Linked DNA regions of Homo sapiens: region 1 is linked to region 2. Evidence: promoter capture Hi-C in 16 types of primary human blood cells and fetal thymus (Javierre and others, 2016). All regions are on one chromosome and are shown on one strand. Each heading gives the region's core, a stretch centred on a gene start or on the middle of the fragment in contact. The rest is flanking DNA. Distances are from core to core; before and after follow the strand shown. Region 1 overlaps SORT1 (sortilin 1). Region 2 holds the start of SORT1 (sortilin 1).

What was found. Contacts are between HindIII fragments. The CHiCAGO score rates a contact against its expected background, and 5 or more counts as called.
Region 1: a contact is called between a fragment that was not itself captured here and the fragment with the promoter of SORT1 in region 2, in 2 of 17 cell types (M2 macrophages and megakaryocytes). The highest score is 9.7, in M2 macrophages.

The regions. Positions count from the first base shown.
Region 1 is chr1:109,328,945-109,333,506 of GRCh38, reverse strand. All of the region lies in intron 11 of SORT1 (sortilin 1), which reads left to right. Among named protein-coding and RNA genes, the nearest start is that of MYBPHL, 24 kb to the right of the region's middle. The HindIII fragment of the contact is 5,647 bases long and covers 176-4,562 here.
Region 2 is chr1:109,395,698-109,399,700 of GRCh38, reverse strand. SORT1 (sortilin 1) reads left to right here and starts at 1,783. Exons shown (of 20, transcript NM_002959.7): 1 at 1,783-2,114. The coding sequence starts at 1,809. It overlaps PSMA5 (proteasome 20S subunit alpha 5), which reads left to right. Exons shown (of 9, transcript NM_002790.4): 9 at 1-659. RefSeq lists an enhancer at 649-1,630 and silencers at 1,657-1,786, 1,827-1,896, 1,907-2,006. The HindIII fragment of the contact is 10,275 bases long and covers 756-4,003 here.

The DNA.
Region 1 (4,562 bases), core at 1,750-4,249, 67 kb after region 2:
GCAAGTATTTTCTCCCATTCTGTGTATTGTTTGTCTTCTCTCTTTTGGTGGTTTCCTTTATTTTGCAGAAGCTTTTTAGTTTGATACAATCTGATTTGTCTGTTTTTGTTTTTTGTTGCCTGTGCTTTTAGGGTCGTATCCAAAAAGCCATTGCCCAGATGAATGTCAAGAAGCTTTTTTCCCTATATTTCCTTCTAGTAGTTTTACAGTTTCAAGTCTTACATTTATGTCTCTAATCCATTTTGAGTTGATTTTTGTACATGACATGAAATAAGGATTGAGGCCAGGTGTGGTGGCTCACGCCTGTAATCCCAGCACTTTGGGAGGCCAAGGAGGGTGGATCACGAGGTCAGGAGATCGAGACCATCCTGGCCAACATGGTGAAATCCCGTCTCTACCAAAAATACAAAAATTAGCTGGGTATGGTGATGTGCACCTGTAGTCCCAGCTACTTGGGAGACTGAGGCAGGAGAATTGCTTGAACCTGGGAGGCGGAGGTTGCAGTGAGCCGAGACCGCACCATTGCACTCCAGCCTGGCGACAGAGCAAGACTCCATCTCAAAAAAAAGAAAGAAGGGTTGAAATTTATTCTTCTGCATATAGATATTCAGTTTTCCCAGCACCGTTTATTTAAGAGGCTGTCTTTTTCACATTGTGTGTTCTTGACACCCTTGTCAAAGTTAAGTTGACAATAAATGCATAGATTTATTTCTGTGCTCTCTATTCTGTTCCATTGGTCTATTTGTTTTTAACGCCAGTACCATGCTGTTTTGATTACTATAGCTCAATAATATATTTTGAAATTAGGTAGCATGATACCCCCAGCTTTGTTCTTTTTGCTTGCAATTACTTTGGTTATTCAGGGTCTTTTGTGGTTCCATATAAATTTTAGGATTTTTTCTATTTCTGTGAAAAATACCATTGGAATTTTTTTTAAGAGGCAAAGTCTTAGTCTGTCACCCTGACTGGGGTCCAGTGGAATAATCATAGGTCACTGCAGCCTCAAACTCCTAGGCTCACACAATCCTCCCACGTCCCAAGTAGCTAGGTGTGTACCACCACACCTGTCTAATTTTGGTACTTTTTGGTAGAGATGGGGTTTCACCATGTTGCCCAAGCTAGTCTTGAACTCCTGGCCTCAAGTGATCCTACCACCTCAGCCTCTCAGCTGGGATTACAGATGTGAGCCACCACAACTGGTTGTTTTGTTCTTGATGTACCTTAAGTACCTAAAACAGTGCCTGAAATATAGCAGGTACTCAGTAAACATCTGATGAATTAACGTGTTTGGATTGTTCTGTGTTGTCACAGAAAGAGGGTTATTTATAACCATATAATAGTAAAAAAAGACAGTCAAAATAATAGGCATTACATTTAATCTGTAGATCACTTTGGGTAGTATGGACATTTTAACAATATTAATTATTCCAATCCAGGAACATAGGATATATTTCCTTTTTTTTTTTTTTGTCATCTTCAATTTCTTTCATCAATGTTTTGTAGTTTTTAGTCTTTCACCTCCTTGGTTAAATTTATCCCTAAGTTTTTTTTGTTTTTTTTTTTTAAGTTTTTTTCTTGTACTATTGTAGATGAAATTTTCTTGATTTCTTTTTTGGATAGTTTGTTGTTAGTGTATATTGTATTTTTATATGTTGATTTTATATTCTGCAACTTTTTTGAATTTATTAGTTTTAACATTTTTGGTGGAGTCTTTAAAGATTAAGGATTTTTATATATAAGCTCATGTCACCTGCAGACAGACAATTTTACCTCTTTCTTTCTGGTTTGGATGCTTTTTGTTTTTATTTCTTTTTCTTACTTAATTGCTCCAGCTAGGACTTCCATTACTATAATGAACAGAAGTGGTGAGAATGGGCATCTTTGTCTTATTCCTGATCTTAGAGGAAAAGGTTTAGCTTTTGACTGTTTGAGTATGATGTTAGCTGTGGGCTTGTCACATATAGCCTTTATTATGTTGAGGTATATCCCTTTTATACCTAATTTATTGAGAGTTTTTATCATGAATGGGTTTATTATGTTGAGGTATATCCCTTTTATACCTAATTTATTGAGAGTTTTTATCATGAATGGGTGTTGAAATTTGTTAAGTGCTTTTTCTGGATTTATCAAGATGATATGATTTCTATCCTTCATTCTATTAATGTGGCATATCTCATTTATTGATTTGCATATGTTGAACCATCCTTGCATTCCACAGATAGATCCTACTTGATCATGGTATATAATCTGTTTAATATGCTGTTGAATTCAGTTTGTTAGTATTTTGTTGAGAATTTTTGCATCTATGTTCATCAGAGATATTGACCTGTAATTTTGTTTTCTTCTAGTGTCCTTGTCTGGTTTTGGTAGCAGGGTAATACCACCCTTATAAAATGAGTTTGGAAGTGTTCCATTCTCTTCAATTTTTGGAAGAGTTTGAGAAGGATCGGTCTTAATTCTTCTTTGAAGAAAGTTTGCTAGAATTCACCATTGAATCCATCAGGTCCTAGGCTTTTCTTGTTGGGAGGTTTTTGATTACTGATTGAGCCTCCTTACTCATATTAGTATGTTCAGATTTTCTATTTCTTCTTCATGATACAGTCTTGGTAAGCTGTATATGTCTAGAAATTCATCCATTTTTTTCTAGATTATCCAATTTGTTGATGTATAGTTGTTCATAGTAGTCTCTTAGGATCCTTTGTTTTTTCTGTAGTATAAGTTATAATGTCTCCTCTTACATTTCTGATTTTACTTGAGTCTTTTCTTTTTTTCTTATTCTAATTAAAAGTTTGTCACTTTTTTATCTTGTCAAAAAAAACAACTCTAAGTTTCATTGATCTTTCCTGTTATTTTTCTAACTTCTATTTCAGTTATTTCTGCTCTGTTATTATTTCCTCCCTTCTGCTAACTTTGGGCTTAGTTTGTTCTTTTTCTAGTTCCTTGAGGTATAAAGTTAAGATTTTTGAGATTTTTCTTTTTTCTTAATGTAGACATTTATCACCATAAACTTTCTTCTTAGAACTGCTTTTGCTGCATCCCTTAAGTTTTAATATGTTGTGTTTCCCTTTTCATTTGTCTCAAGTTTTTTTTATTTCCCTTTGACTCATTGGTTGTTCAAGAATATGTTGTTCAATTTCCACATTCATGTGAATTTTCCAATTTTCCTCCCTTTACTGATTCTAGTTTCATAATGTTGTAGTTGAAAAGAACTTGAGGCCAGGCACACTGGCTCACGCCTATAATCCTTGCACTTTGGGAGGCTGAGGTGGGTGGATCACGAGGTCAGGAGTTCAAGACCAGCCTGGCCGACTTGGTCTCTACTAAAAATACAAAAAAAAAATAGCTGGGCGTGGCAGCGGGTGCCTTTAATCCCAGCTACTCAGGAGGCTGAGGCAGAGAATTGTTTGAACCCGGGAGGCGGAGCTTGCAGTGAGCCAAGATCACGCCACTGCACTCCAGCCCAGGTGACAGAGTGAGACTCCGTCTCAAAAAAAAAAGAAAGGATACTTGAGGTGATTTCAGTCTTACATTTGTTAAGGCTTGTTTTGTGGCCTAACATATGCACTATCCTGGAGAATATTCTCTGTGCACTTGAAAAGAATGTATATTCTGCTGCTATTGGATAGAATGTTCTGTATATGTCTGTTAGGTCCATTTGTATGGTGTTGTTCAAGTTTGCTCTTTCCTTACTGGTTTTCTGTCTGGATGATCTATCATTGAAAGTAAGTATTGAAGTCCCTTACTATTATTGTATTGTCGTCTACCTCTTTCTTCAGTTCTGTTAATGTTTGCTTTATACATTTAGGTGCTCTAATGTTGAGTGCATTTATATTTACCAATGTTATATGCTCTTGATGAATTGACACCTTTATCATTGTGTGGTAACTTTCTTTATCCCTTGTGATAGTTTTTTACTTAAAGTCTATTTTGTCTGATATAAATATAGCCACCCCCGGCTGGACATGGTGGCTCACGCCTGTAATCCCAGCTCTTTGGGAGACCAAGGCGGGCGGATCACGAGGTCAGGAAATCAAGACCGTCCTCACTAACATGGTGAAACCCTGTCTCTACTAAAAATACAAAAAATTAGCCGGGTGTGGTGGCAGGCGCCTGTAGTCCCAGCTACTTGGGAGGCTGAGGCAGGAGAATGGCATGAACCCAGGAGGCAGAGCTTGCAGTGAGCTGAGATGGCACCACCGCACTCCAGCCTGGGTGGCAGAGCGACACTCCGTCTCAAAAATAAATAAATAAATATAGCCACCCCTGCTCTCTTTTGGCTACCATTTGAGTGGAATATCTTTTTTTTATCTCTACTTTTAGCCTATGTGTCCTCTTACACACATAGGCCTTTACAGATGGCTTCAGCAGGGGAAGCCCTTACCAGGTAGCTCATCCAGAGATTCTTGGGGGGGCAACTGACAGGTTCTGCAGGTAGGTGGGCCTGGTGCCTTGGTCTTTGGGGGTAGCTTGGAGGCTGGGTCCTCTGCGGCAGGCCTGGCAGTGGAATCCACTAGGGTGGACCTTTTAAGTGGGTCTTCAGGTGAAACACCTGGAGCCCGGTA
Region 2 (4,003 bases), core at 534-3,033:
AGAAGCTGATACAGTTTGAAGAAGGAAATATATAAGTACTGTAAGCCTGTGATAACTAAAAGCAACATACTAAAAAGTGAAGGTACAGATAATTGGAACAAATTTAATAGCGTTTAAAAGTGTATTTGGTAATTTCTCCAGGAGGTGGCACTGTTGAGTTGTTTTTTCTTTTCAGACAGTAAGACAATAGACCATTCATCTTTGTGTCACCCAAACAAAGAAATATTCCTTTATAACCCCCTTTCCTCCCCCCACCTAATCACATGCTACTGGAACTGACTGTCTTGTGATCTACTCCCATAGTTGGCATAGATTTAAAAATAATCTTTTTTAAATTAATCTGATAGTAGTTATGGAAAGGAACAAATTGTTCACCAATTTTCATCAGCTTTATCTTTTCAGTCCAGTAACTGAGAACTTAAAAAGACTATTCTAGTGATTTTACTATCCTGCTCAGATGGCATTCAAAAACATTTTTCACTTCTCACGTCTTGGAAAAATTTGTAAATTCGTTAAGTCTTTTTGTTTGAAAGTTAATGTGACTGGAAATATTTTAATGTAAATATCGGGTTGGGTGCATTGTATCATTTTGCTCTACAATGACTATATCCTCATTTGGGTTTATGGCCAGTTTATAATTAAAAGTAATCTTTACTTGCTTTGAGTGTAATGACTTGCATATTTTGTATCTTTCTATTTGCTACCTTTTCTACTGAACAATTTCTAGCTTTCTGAAGGGATGGAGTCAGTAAGCTTAAGGATTCAGAACTGGTTTTACCTGTGCTACGTGTTGTAGAAGTTGTGTGTGCAGCTTCTGCGGTAAAGGGAACAGCGTAGGGGTTTTATTTTATTCATTAGAGGTGGATCGGGGTGCTAATTTAGAGGACATCACATACTGGAACCAAACTTGTCCGAAGCTCTCACTGCAGAGTTAAGGCACTTTGGTAAAATAAATGTGCATCTAGGAAATGATCATGTGTACAGTAGGCATTGGATCATTCTCTTGCCCCTCTTTTACCTGCCCCTAATGCCTAAGCTACATTCGAAGTCCTGGAAAACCTGTAAGTAATTCCGCCTTTGGCCTACCTCCCCTCAGAAGAGGAAGGTGAGAGAGGCCAAACGTATGGAAAGACTATTCTTCAGGCTTGCAGGAGTCACGGATGTCCTGATGTCTGTCTCCGTAGGATGTGGCCCACATCAGTTCGCATTCACCTTCTTGCAGCAAGGCAGCTGCTTAGCAGACAATGGGCGCTCCAGTGAGCGGGGTTTATAAAAACCCGAAGCCCCGGTTCATGATGGAGCCCCCTTTTCCAGCTGAGCAAGCTCAGGGATTTCCTGGGTAGGTTTTTCCAGGCTCTGCCTCACCGAAGGAATTTTAGGAGTGTCTCTGGGGAACAGGAGGGACGTAACCCAGCCCCAACTTGAGGGCGCTAGAGGTGCGGCAAGGGGTCGCGACGCCAGGAGCCCGGGGCTCGGCGGGAAGGTATGAGAAGCTCCTACGTGAACTCCACAAGCCGGGCCCGGGAGACGCCGGGCGAGGCGGGGTTGACCTCAGCAGTCTCTGCCCCGTTCCAGCCAATCAGTCCCGCATCTTAGCATCCGAATCCAGGACCCCCGAAGCCGGAGGCGACGCGAGCCAATGAGGAGTGGGCCGGGGAAGAGGGACAGGCGGCCAGCCTATGGGGCGGAGAGGCCCGGCCGCGCGTATCCAAGGAGCGCCGCGCTCGGCTCGGGGGTGTGGCGCGCGCCGGCGGGGGTGGGCGGGCGCGCCGGGCGGCAGGTGTCGGCGTCGGCGGCATTCGGCGGCGATGGAGCGGCCCTGGGGAGCTGCGGACGGCCTCTCGCGCTGGCCCCATGGCCTCGGCCTCCTCCTCCTCCTGCAGCTGCTGCCGCCGTCGACCCTCAGCCAGGACCGGCTGGACGCGCCGCCGCCGCCCGCTGCGCCGCTGCCGCGCTGGTCTGGCCCCATCGGGGTGAGCTGGGGGCTGCGGGCGGCCGCAGCCGGGGGCGCGTTTCCCCGCGGCGGCCGTTGGCGTCGCAGCGCGCCGGGCGAGGACGAGGAGTGCGGCCGGGTCCGGGACTTCGTCGCCAAGCTGGCCAACAACACGCACCAGGTGAGCGGGCGCCGGGCCCGGGAGCCGCTCGGGTGCGAGGTGCCGCCCGCGTGCCCCTCCCGGCCCGTGCGCCCCGCGACTCCCGGAGGAGACCCCAGCCCTGCCGCGCCCGCGTCCCCCGGGCCGCAGCCCCGAAACTGCGGCGGGCGGGCGGGCGGAGTCGGGCCCGGGCGGCCGGCGGGGCTGTGTTTTGTCATAGGGGAGGCAATCTTAGACTTCCACCGCATTCTTTTTTTTTTTTTTAAGTTGTCAAAATCTCTTGAACATCGTTTTTCGTCTGTATAAATAATCAGGACCCAGTAACGCTGTTAGGCCCCAGGAAGGTGAAGGAGTAATTAACTCTTGAGCGCTTGCAGAAGTTGGGCTGCGCAGAAGCAAAGGTGTGTCCTCTCTGGGTCAGTACTTTCCGGGTGGGAGAGGCGGGAGTTCAGGAGGCCCGAAGCAGCGATCTGGTCACCGTGTTTTAATAGTTAAGGGGACTAGCTTGGAAATGAGATGGCAATATTTATGTGATCTCTTTTACTGCTTCAGATTTGACCTTCTGTCATGGTACGGAAGTCTGACTAGCATGTCTATATCCCGTGGTGACAAGATTTTCAATAGTTAAGAAACGCATTGCACATATTCTGCTTTGAGCCAGCTCTTGGTCAAAAGACTTTCAAAATTATGGGATTTCTGTCCCTGGGGACAAGCAGCTCAACCTTTGCACACTACTGGACTGACAAAACTAATTATTAAGAAAGTCCTGGTTCCTTGCTTCAGCACAACTTGGGCATCTTTCTCCTATTTCTCTAAAATTAACAATTTAATCCTTGCTAGCCACATTTGCATAATGTATTTTCAATTCTATATATTTTCTCCCTTGCCTGTTTTCCTCTTTCAAAGAAAATGAATTGCACTTGGGGGCAGAGATGGGTGGCCAAGGCTCTGTGCCAGCACTTGTCCTTCTGTAACCGTTTTTCAGCGTCAGCCAAGCCTCAGTCTCCCTTTGGACTGCCTGGTTATCTGGACCATACTTGTTACCTGTAATAGAATTCTCTGATCTGAGGACACAAGACACAAATATTCAGGAATAATTGTGCTTAGTGTATCCCGAGCAGCAGCTGTGTAAAGGTAGCCAAGCTAGTGCTGGAGGGTGAGACAGGTTGGGTAGAATGAGTACTGGGAAGTCTTCCTACTTGATGAGAAAAAAAAATCGAATAGACTTCCTTCTCACAGTGGGGGATTGAGAAAGGCTTTACAACACTAATGCTTAATTTATACTGGACCACTTCCTTCCTTGAGCTAGCTGGTCACAGCATTCTTGCTCCATATTTCAAATTCTTCTCTCGCTGGTTGACCTAACTTTAGGTCTGCTGCTACTCCTGGATTTAGATTTACTCCTGTTTTTCTTTTTCTCTTTTTTTGTGAGATAGAGTCTTACCTCAGCCTCCTGAGTAGCTGGGACTACAGGTGTGCACCACTATGCCTAGCTAATTTTTGTGTAATTACTATTTTTTTTTTGAGATAGGGTCTCACTCTGTTGCCCAGGCTGGAATGCAGTGGTGTGATCACAGCTCACTGCAGCCCTGACCTCCTGGGCTCAAGTGATCCTCTCACCTCAGCCTCCCAAGTAGCCGGGACTACTGGTACATGCACCCAGCTAATTGTTCTTTTCTTTCTTTCTTTCTTTTTTTAAGAAACAGGGTTTTGCCATGTTCCCCAGGCTGGTCTTGAACTCCTGGGCTCAAGTGCTCCACCCACCTTAGCCTGCCACAGTGCTGAGATTAGAGGCGTGAGCCACTATGCCCTGCCTGGATTTATTCCTTGAGTCAGAGTCTTCCTGGTTAGTTTGAATTGATGTGTCATTTGTAATATATTGATTCCAAAGAAAGAGGTTGAAAAAACTG